3 separate regions of the Homo sapiens genome follow, and all the other regions are linked to region 3. The links are contacts of gene promoters, found by promoter capture Hi-C in blood cells and fetal thymus (Javierre and others, 2016). All regions are on one chromosome and are shown on one strand. Each heading gives the region's core, a stretch centred on a gene start or on the middle of the fragment in contact. The rest is flanking DNA. Distances are from core to core; before and after follow the strand shown.

The links. The method cuts DNA at HindIII sites, captures the fragments that hold promoters and counts their contacts. A CHiCAGO score of 5 or more calls a contact.
Region 1: a contact is called between a fragment that was not itself captured here and the fragment with the promoter of QRFPR in region 3, in 2 of 17 cell types (fetal thymus and activated CD4 T cells). The highest score is 6.3, in fetal thymus.
Region 2: a fragment that was not itself captured here is called in contact with the fragment with the promoter of QRFPR in region 3 in 1 of 17 cell types (M2 macrophages); the score reaches 5.0 in M2 macrophages.

The regions. Positions count from the first base shown.
Region 1 is chr4:120,172,815-120,176,416 of GRCh38, reverse strand. No RefSeq gene overlaps it. Among named protein-coding and RNA genes, the nearest start is that of MAD2L1-DT, 110 kb to the right of the region's middle. The HindIII fragment of the contact is 1,027 bases long and covers 959-1,985 here.
Region 2 is chr4:120,074,827-120,078,449 of GRCh38, reverse strand. The region is part of intron 1 of MAD2L1-DT (MAD2L1 divergent transcript); the gene reads right to left. Among named protein-coding and RNA genes, the nearest start is that of MAD2L1-DT, 9.7 kb to the right of the region's middle. The HindIII fragment of the contact is 1,023 bases long and covers 969-1,991 here.
Region 3 is chr4:121,379,332-121,383,025 of GRCh38, reverse strand. It overlaps QRFPR (pyroglutamylated RFamide peptide receptor), which reads left to right and starts at 2,008. Exons shown (of 6, transcript NM_198179.3): 1 at 2,008-2,718. The coding sequence starts at 2,379. RefSeq lists an enhancer at 1,438-2,222. The HindIII fragment of the contact is 7,115 bases long and covers 1-3,023 here.

The DNA.
Region 1 (3,602 bases), core at 223-2,722, 1.2 Mb after region 3:
GCAACCGACCCCAGGGTAGCAATTGTGAAGATTTAAAAGGTTATAAGATTTATTTGCTCCTTTAATTAGATTATAATCTTGTGGTATAGATAACATTTACCAATATGAAAATATCTCAGACTTAAGAAATAAATTGAGGTTGTTTCAAAATTGTGTGACTTCCATAGACAGCTACTTGAGCATTCCCAACTTTTTGGAACCCCCTTTCCTTTACTATTTAAATATAATATTATAGCATTGCTTCGGTCTCATGTACTATAAAAAAACCAATAACCACTCCAATACCTGAGAATTATTAGTGAGGCATTTCTCCTAGTTTCCTCTTGCTACATTTTCTGATTCTGCTCTTTCACTATTCACACTCAGCATCTCACCTCTGCAGCCACTGCCTGTGGTTGGCATACCTGTGCTCCCATTGGCCACAACTGAGTCCTTCGCTTCTCCAGAATACCAAAGACACAGCGTAGCTGTGTGTAACAGAATTTCACTGAGGATTTAAGATAGTAGAAGGTGGGTTTACAACATAGGACAGCCTTCAATTTAAAACTAAATGTTTATACTCTTTAGTTAGTCCTAAGCATGAGTAACTTCTCATTGTCCACTCTTCCCTAAAGCTATTGAATTAGCTACATTTTCTCAAACTCTCTGTCACCTCTTCTTCTCCAGTTCCTACAAGTTTTCTACTCTCTCTTATCCAGGACATCAGATAATCTCATTTTCTACCCTTTAATTTTGAAGATCAATTTGGCACTCTTGTAATTCATCTCCCAAAGAATCCTTATTTTCCTAAAAAAACAAGAATCATCTCTCCTAATGTAATAATGCCACTTGTCTAGTATGTCAAAGTGGTTGTAGTCAGTTCGTGCTTTAAACAGAATTTTTTAAATGATCATATTACATGAACAAGTGAGAATCAGTAAGCGAGACCTCTCTGCAGGTTGGACTTGTCAATCAAGCTTCATGAACAATAATGGTAATTAGAGCAGACTGAAGGGTCCTTAGTATTTCAACAGATTGAAAAGAAACAGGAAGATATTACATGATAGCAGAACAGAAAAAATAAGGGTTGGGATGTGGAACTGTGCCTGATTATGTGGGAGAAGGAGAGAAGAGTTGCTTGACTAGAATTGTGACATGGTGAGTAGTAGAATATGAGCTCAGAGAAATGGTTTGTAACCAATTATAGGATAACTAGAGAGGACAAAAGGAGTTTAGATTTGGAACAACAGAAAACAAGAGATAGATGCTTTTCAGGATTCTTTAACAGAAGTGAGAAATGGTAAAAGAAATATTTGTAGAAGATTAATCTGGTGATATAATAGGAGATATGTTGATGAAATAAAAGGCTGGAGGCAGAGAAATGAGTTTATATGATTTGACAGTAACTGGGAAGGGCACTGAGGAAATGAGTGAGCCTCGTGACACAGGAAGGGAGGAGGGTGGTGGGAATTGAGAACTAATGCAAAGGACCCACCATGTTCAGGCTTAAGGCTGCTGATCAGCAACGCGACCCCCGATATATTTAGTGATAGCTGGGACCCGGAGGTGAATAGGGGAGGAGAAGAAATCTTTCCTCTGCACGGCTGGGGTCATGCCATGAGCTAGAGTGGTAATTTTCCACCTCATCTGTCTTTTGAGACATCATTTGTACCTATCAAGACTTATGTACTACTGTTTACTAATATAGTTATGAAAAATTTTTAAATATTTAAATATCTTAATCTTTTACAAACTATTGTTGTTGCTTTTTATAACAAAGGTAATCAATGTTTAAAAGGAATAAAAGGTAAAAAGGATATAGGATAAAAATGTCAATGATCTATTATCTACAAATATACCCTGCTAACATTCTGCAGTAAAATGTACTGTATTTTAACAGATTAACATATAACATATTAAAGTCAGTTTTGTCTTGTGCCTAGTTCATATCACTTTTTATATTATGTTTTCTATAAAGGCTTTAAAAATAGAACAGTTATTAAGCTTTCTGCATTGTTTTCTCCCATTTAAACTAATAAAGAAAATGAACACTTGGTATTAGTATTGACAGGGTAGAATGGTTAAAATAAGGAAGCTGATAAAATAATGCACATTTCTCAAATAGAGCCCCATTAACAGAAATGTGTCTCAGGTTTTGATTCCATTCATTTTGGCCCATGATATTAGCTGTCTCAGAAACATCATATTTGCAAATCACTCATGTTTAATAAAGACAGGCATTGTGCAAGTACTGAAGCTGAGGAAGATATCTTGCATTCTGAGTTTACACTGGCCCCAAGATCCACAAAGTATTTGCTTTTTAGGCACTAGCCATTTGAAAAGCGGTTTTCTTTCTGCCACTTATGGCAGCGAAGAATGAAAAAATATAGTAAAATACATTATTTGAAGCCAAAGACAAAGCAGAGTGCTCTCAGATGTCATTTATTTTACTTAATAACTCTAGCCATAAAAAACTCAGCAAATCCTATAGAGAGCTATTTTTTTACAATTGAGAACTATTTTCTGTCCATAAATGATGACATATGTATAAAGAAGAAAAAATGACTTGCCATTATCTCCTTAGGGCTCTAAACATAGCTAGAAGTAAATTTTAAACTGTTATAAGTTTGCAAAGTTTTTGATACATAGCAGTTTAGCCATTGCTTTTCTGGGCTTACATCTGACAACAAAATATATTTCCTATTTAGTAGGAAAGTTTTGTAGACCTTCACTACTCCCTGGAAAATAAGATGTCTAGGAAGAAAGAATGAGCTAACCTGGTATAATTGTGTGGGGTTTTGGAGATGAGATCTGGTCCATATTTGTCAATGACCAGTGTGTTGACCTTGGGAAGGTTATTTAATCTCTCTATATTTGAACTTGATGCTAATATACTTACAAGCATCCTTCTCATTAGCCAAGTCATTACTTAATATGGAATACTAGAAGAAAGCAAACCAACAATGATTATTTAAGCACAGAGTGTTGAAAAGACTGTTTACATATTAAGCAAAATTATCTACCCATCACAGAGGGAAGCCAAGCTGCCCAGTCATTCCGTAGGATCACTTCATTTTGCACATTTGCAAATAGATTCCCAGTGATCAAGCAACAAAACAGAACAGCACACATCTTTGACATTTTCAGTAGCCAAAAATGCTTGGGAGTAATTTTAACTAGAAATAGTATGAATAAATTGTTTCAAGGACGATGTCATATTAGAAGAGAGGTCAAAACAATGTACATGTAGCTCTACATGACTATCTATTGATGCTTTAATATTAAAAATAACTTTCAAGGCATAATCCTCAGCCTTCTGTTTCCTCCTCACCTTCCCTTGAAGGGTTTATGACTCCAATACTTTGGGCTATGCAGTACTTTTATTTCTATGAGTTGAAGAAAGCAATAGTCCTAGAAGAAGATAGGAAGAAAGAAGCAATCGTAGATTTGTCATTAAAGTTTCCTAAATAACCAGAGAAATGACCAGATAAATAATTTCCAGAATCTGAAAATAGTCTAGTGACCCAAATAGGTACGTCTGGCTGCCCTTTCCAAGTTCTGTGGCTTCTAGTGTAGTTCTTACAAGTTCAAGTTGCTACTCTCAGACAATACCACTATCCTGA
Region 2 (3,623 bases), core at 231-2,730, 1.3 Mb after region 3:
CATCTCAACACATTTTTAAAATGTCTCTCAAATTTGTCATCTTTTTACATTCCTGCTGTATTGCATATTCTCATTTCCTTTTGTCTGAGCTATCAATAAAATTGGCAGGACAAAGAGTAGGCTATTTCAAATGCCATTCTATCCCTTGGCCAGAATATTTGTTTAATGCCTCCTCTTAGTTCACTGAAGATCTTTTAAGTAGAAAATTGACAAGATCTTTTAAGCACAAAATTTTTAAAAAATTCCTGTTTTTGCAGCCCTAGTCAGGGTACCCCTTTTGGCCATCCACTCTTAGCCAGATGAGCCAGTATTGCACCCTGGATCCTACCTCTTGTTTCTTTTCCTCCAGTTTTGGACTCTTTTCTTCCACTTTTGGATTATTTTCCTTGTTCCAATTCTGTGACTTTCCAGCCATTCAGCTCCATTGGTTTCCATTGCTGAATGGGTCTCAGGAGTTACATAGCAAGGATGGAGGAATATTAAGGACCCACTATAGTTTGCCTCAAATTAGAGTTATCTAAAATATAGTCAGATCTTTGATGCTTTCAGGATTCATATTCTGGTACCATCTAGATTGCTTGGATTTGACTCCAGTTCTCCTAGCTGGGTGACCTTAGCTAAATTATTCAACTTCCTTCTGTAACTTAATTCAGGTAATAGTAGTATCTAACTCTTGAGCTAATGAGGGATTAAATAAAATGATTCTTGTAAAGCACATAGAAATGTGCCTGGCAGATAGTATGTGGTTAATAATGTTGGCTATCATTATTATATATGTTATAAGAGTTTCTATCTCATCTGTGCCTTAAGTTGTATTATCTAAAGCCTCCTTTAGTTATGCTAAACTAAACATGTACCAACCCAGGAAAGGTGCGTGGAAAAGTGGTGAAAAGCTGTCTTATTAACAACAACAGTAACAATATAATAATAAAACAATAACAATAACATATTAGCATTAAGCCAAAGCTTCATTTAAATTATCTCATGTAATACTCAGAAAAATTATATGTGACAAGTACTATTGTTACATCCATTTTACCGATAAGGAAAATAACTCCTATATAATTCTTCTTAAATTGTCCAGATAGTCTGCTTCTAAGAAGTTTCTCTGGAACATGCTAGGCTAACATCTTTTTTTGACATATCTGCATGTGATCTCTGCTGTTGGTAGATTGCTTGGAGATTCCTGCTTCTTTTAGACAAGACCATGACACTCCCTCATTATGCAACCAGTAATAAAGTTTTTTTTTTTTATGTGATCTAAGTGGACTTTTATGACAGGATTTGTTGAAACCCCTAAGATGGCTTTTATTCTGTGCTTTGGGCAGTGGTAAATAGATGGGGTTCAAGAGTCTGGAGCACTCCTTCCCAATAAGAATGTATTTTCCTTACAGGATTGTTCTGCAAAGTCCATTATAAAGAATGATAGCTCACGCCGGGCATGGCGGCTCACACTTGTAATCCCAGCACTTTGGGAGGTCAAGGTGGGTGAATCACTTGAGGCCAGGAGTGCAAGACCATCGAAACCTTGTCTCCACTAAAAAATACAACAATTAGCTGGGTGTGATGGTGCATGCATGTAATCCCAGCTACACAGGAGGCTGAGGAATAAGGATCACTTGAACCTGAGAGGCGATGATTGCAGTGAGCTGAGATGGTGCCACCACGCTCCAGCCTGGGTGAAAGAGCAAGACTCTGTCTCAGAAAAAAAAAAAAAAAAAAAAGAATGATACTTCAAATTTCCACATAGGCATGCAGGTCAGCCATCCTAACTAGGTCTATTCCATATTTACCTAGAAGAGAGGACAAGCACGGAACACTACTATTCCCAACTCAGGTGCCTCATCCCCTAATCAATAAGGTTTCTGCAAACATCCTCAAAATCAGTGGCTTCCAAAGTGGAATATATGCAAAAAACAATCCTTTTGGGAGTATAGGAAGGAATGTTACAACTTCTATTTAATTTATGTTTTAACCTAGGAAAATAAGCTTTACTAAAAAAATGGATTTCAAAAAATGGACTGACATTGCACACTCACACAGTCTCCATGTCAGAAGGTCACGTTCTTACTCATATGTGGAAGTTAAAAAAGTTGATCCCACAGAAGTAAAAAGTACAACAGAGAATACTAGAGGCTGGGAAGGGTAGGCGGAAAGAGAGGACAGAGAGATTTGTTAAAGGAAACAAAATTACAGCTAGATAAGAGTAAGTTCTAGTGTTCTACAGCACTTGTAGGATGACTACATCCTACAAGTTAATAATAGTTTAAAATAGCTAGAATGGGGATATTGAATGTTTGAAACACAAAGAAATTATAAATGTTTAAGATGATAGATAGGCTGATTACCCTGATCTGATCACTATACATTGTATAGACCACAACATCACTATGCACCCTGTAAATATGTACAATTATTATTTGTCAGTTTTAAAAATTTAGAAAAAAAAGGGAGTCATAGGCCATGATTGGTACCCTGAGGAAATGCAAGTCAGCTGTGCCAGATTTACTGGCTCTTTCTCTTTGCAGTACTGTGCTAACAAGAACTTCAGAAAAATTAACATTCTTCCATTCCGTTTTTCAAAAGACACTCATGTTATGGAAGGAGCACGTTTGAATAAACTTTTTTTTTTTTTTGAGATGGAGTCTCGCTCTGTCACCCAGGTTGGAATGCAGTGGCACGATCTCAGCTCACTGCAAGCTCCAGCTCCCGGGTTCATGCCATTCTCCTGCCTCAGCCTCCTGAGTAGCTGGGACTACAGGTGCCCGCCACCACACCCGGCTAATTTTTTGTATTTTTTTTTTTTTTACAGGGTTTCACTGTGTTAGCCAGGATGGTCTCAATCTCCTGACCTCGTCATCCGCCCTCCTCAGCCTCCCAAAGTGCTGGGATTACAGGCATGAGCCACCGCACCTGGCCTGGATAAACTATTTTTTAAAAAAGTCTCATCTGTACAATTGAAAAGTTTGGAAACAGAGTTCTCTAAACTATAATTTTTCTAAATTACAAATTAGTTCCAAAACTAACTAAAAGGTCAAACAATGCATTTAATTAGTTCCCAAACTAATAGGAAGGTATTGTTTTGATATTTTTTTAAAAAAAAAAGGGTTAAAAAACTGCTTAAACCATTGTTTTTGAACACATTCATTAAAATTATTAAAATATCATATGTCACTTTTTAACCAGCTTGTAAGAACACCTAATTGGTACCATTAAATTGAAATTTAATAATCCCTTTTCAGCAAAAACTTTGCATAATTGCTAATACAGGTAAATAAAAAGAATAAGAAGTCAACAATGTACTTTCTTCCATTTGGACCTTCATATCTTTGTGGTGTATCTCTTTTAGCTCTGCTGGCCAAAAAACACAAACCCCCCAAAACAAACAAAAAAACTATTAAAATAAGCTGAATTATTAGACTTGTAAACCACTCTTTCAAAAATAATTAAACCATGATTTTTAAAAGCAATGAAACATATTCACTGCAAAAATCTTAATATGGTTATTAATATATTTAGTGAAAGTAAAAATAATTTATTTTCTAATAATATAAACAGAATTATTTTAAAAGTATTTCTCATCTTTCTTAATTTCGAACAACTGGTATGATTTAAACACATAT
Region 3 (3,694 bases), core at 759-3,258:
GTGAATTCATCAACATTGGAGGAATCAAGATCAACATACGAAATAAATTGGATTTCTGCATACTAGTAATGAACACATGGAACCAAAAATTAGAAATTCAGTACAGTACCGTGTACAAATGTCCGCCCAAAATGAAATACTTAGGTGCAAATCTAAAAATATGTACAGGACTTACATGCTGAAAACTGTAAAATGCCTTTGAAATAAATCAAAGATGTAAATTTATGGAAAGACATTCTTCTCATGGATTGAAAAACTCAACCTAGTAAATATGTCAATTTCTATCAAAATCCCAGCAAGGTTTTTTGTAGACATAGACAAGTTGATTGTAAAATGTATATGAATAGGCACAGGTCCTAGAATAGTTACAATAATTTTGAAAAATAAGAATGAAGTATGAGAAATCATGCTACCTGATTTCAAAACTTATTATATAGCTACAGTAGTCAAGAATGTGGAGGATAGACACATAGATCAATTCAACAGAATAGAGAGCCCAAAACATAAAATGTAAAACTATAACACTTTTAGAAAAATACCTAAGAGAAAGTTTTTGAGAAATAGGCTTTGGTGAAGTTAGACTGAACACTAAAAGCTATCTATAAAAGAAAATATTGATAAATATGACTTCACTAAAACTAAAAGCTGTTCTGTGAAAGTCCCTGTTAAGAAGATAAATAACAAGCTACAGACTGGAAGAACATATTTGCAAACCGTTTACTAACAAAGGACTTGTATGTAGAATATAAAAAGAACTTTCAACAGCAAATAAACTAAACCATGCAATTAGAAACGGACAAAACACATGGAAAGACATTTCACCAAAGAAGATTCAAGGACGGCAAATAAGCACATGAGATGTTCAATATTACTTGCCATTAGGTAAATGTAAATTAAGGCCCTAAAGAGATATCACTACAGATCTATTAGAATAGCTTAAAAAAAAAAAGCAGCAAAACCAAATGCTGGCAAGGATGTGGAGAAACGTAACTTCTCATGCATTGATGGTAGAGATGGAGACTTGTACAGCCACTCTGAAAAGTAGTCAATCTCTTTAAAAATTAAATATACACATTACAGATTCAATAATCAAAACTTTTGGCATTTCCTATAGAAAGGAAAACTATGTTCACACAAAAACCTGTACATGATTCTTTATAGCAGCTTTATTTTTAATAGCTCAAAATGGTAATCAACCAAAATGTTCTACAAGAGGTGGATGGTTAAATAAACGGTGATACAGCCTCAGCAATAAAAAGAAACAGCCATTAATACATGCAACAACTTGGATGGATTTAAAGGGCATTAGGCTGAGCGAAGAAAATTCAATATCAAAAGGCAGCATATTGTATGATTTCCCTTACGTAATGTTCTGACAAAAGTTAAGAGAGAACATATTAGTGGTTGCCAGGAGTTAGAGATGGTGGAGGGAGGGGCTAGGTGTGAGTATAAAAAGCACCAGGGAGATTTTTGTGGTGATAGAAGAGTTTGTATCCTGACGGTTACGGGAATCTACACTTGAGATAAAAACATGCAAACACTGTACCTGTGTCAAATTCCTGGTTTTGTATTGTTCCGTAGTTAAATAAGATGTAATGAATGAAAGAAACTGGGTGAAGGGTGGGTACGCAGGATCTTTCTGTATTATCTTTGCCATTTCCCAAGTTCTATATTTTAACTATCTTAATTATTTTTCAATACAGAAAATAATTTAAAATAAGCCCTATTTGCCTTGGGTAGTTGTGGCTCCCATTATTACGCAAGAGGAGAAACTTGAAACTGTGGAACCCCCCAATACCCAGTTTCACATACAAGCATTACCTGACTGGGGCCATGCCCTGAGAAAGGCGCTGGGCGGCAGCAAGTTGGTGAGCCAGGGAAGTCTTCCCTCGCCCTGAGGGTGCGGGGAAGCGGCGTTGGCGCCACTGAAGCTGGGTGTGAGGGAGGCGTCACCGAGTTCAGCCCCACCCTCCACCGCTCCCCAAGCGGGTCCGGCGTCCGCATCGCATGGCCAGAAGGCGGGGAGCCAGAGGCGCCAGGACCCTCGCGTGGCGCTCCAGCACCCCAGACCGTGGCGGCGCCTCGCCTTAGGGAAGAGCAAGGGAAGAACTTTATTTGAACCGCGAACATTTTTTGGTCACTGAGATCGAGTCTCCCAGTGCTTTGGCTTCCCGCCTCTTTATCGTGGGTTTGATCCCTGAGCTGCTCTCCTTTCCCGAACCTCCCGGGGTGCAGCCTAGAGCCCTCCCGCGCGGCTGACTCCAGAGTAGAGGAAGGGAGGCGGCCTCCGGCTGGTCCCCCGAAGCCCTCGCTGCCCCGCAGATGCGGATGGCCAGCCAGTAGCGGGCGGTGGCCCCGCGTCCCGGGAGCGCACAGCAATGCAGGCGCTTAACATTACCCCGGAGCAGTTCTCTCGGCTGCTGCGGGACCACAACCTGACGCGGGAGCAGTTCATCGCTCTGTACCGGCTGCGACCGCTCGTCTACACCCCAGAGCTGCCGGGACGCGCCAAGCTGGCCCTCGTGCTCACCGGCGTGCTCATCTTCGCCCTGGCGCTCTTTGGCAATGCTCTGGTGTTCTACGTGGTGACCCGCAGCAAGGCCATGCGCACCGTCACCAACATCTTTATCTGCTCCTTGGCGCTCAGTGACCTGCTCATCACCTTCTTCTGCATTCCCGTCACCATGCTCCAGAACATTTCCGACAACTGGCTGGGGGGTAAGAGTCGCGCCCCGCTCCTTCGCTCCTTCTCTCTTAACCCTCTGCCTTTCAGGGGATCTCTCTCTCTCTCTCTCTCTCTCTCTCTCTCTCTCTCTCTCTCTCTCTCTCTCTCTCTCTCCTCTCTCGTCTGTCTGTCTCTCTCTCGTCTGTCTCTTCCTTACACTTCTCTGTCAAATGAATCCGGTGCTCTTTCTTAGAACTTCGCCACCTGTGTTCACCTGGACATAAGTTCTTTTGGCCGCCTCTGATTCCCCTCCAGTGCTTCCTCCTTGTGGCTTAGAGACATAGGTTGGGGAAAAGCTTCGGAAAGGTCCCGAGCAGTGAGGCAGGAAGTCGCACCCCTCGCCACTTATTTCAGCTCCCTTTCCCGTCATTACCAGGTTTTTCTCCCCTAGTTTTCTTACTAAAAGTGAGATAAAAATATTTCAAATAATTAAACCAAAGTTAAAAATCTCATTTCCTCATTCCCCCACCCTCCAGCCTCACTTCCCAGTTGCTTGCAGACAGCTTCTTGTACCTATGAGCATAAAACAAATATAATTCATGTGCAGAAAAAATATATTGAACTAGTCCTTTTAAAAACTGTATTAAGTGTCATGCAGGAAGAAGGAACACAGAAAACTGATGCCCTCCTATTATAAAAGAAGAGATAACATTCTCCTCCTTCCGTATAATGGGGGAAAAAAAATGACAGAGGAGAGGTGGAGTCACTGAGTTGGGAGCAGTGTGTGGAGGTTGGAAAAAAAGATATATTTCTTGAGATGATCCAGCTTTTCCAAGAACACAGCTGGAGAATGCCCTGGTGTAAACCCAGGAGCAGTAGTGTGTTGTATTCTCACCAGTGCTTAAGGTGCACCATGGGCCTCCCCTTTTTCACGGTTGGGTGTATTCTTGTGGCCACATCAAAATGGTTAGAAATGTAAGAGAAATAGATCATTATGCCTTCAATCTCTGCTATTTCTATCCCATTACT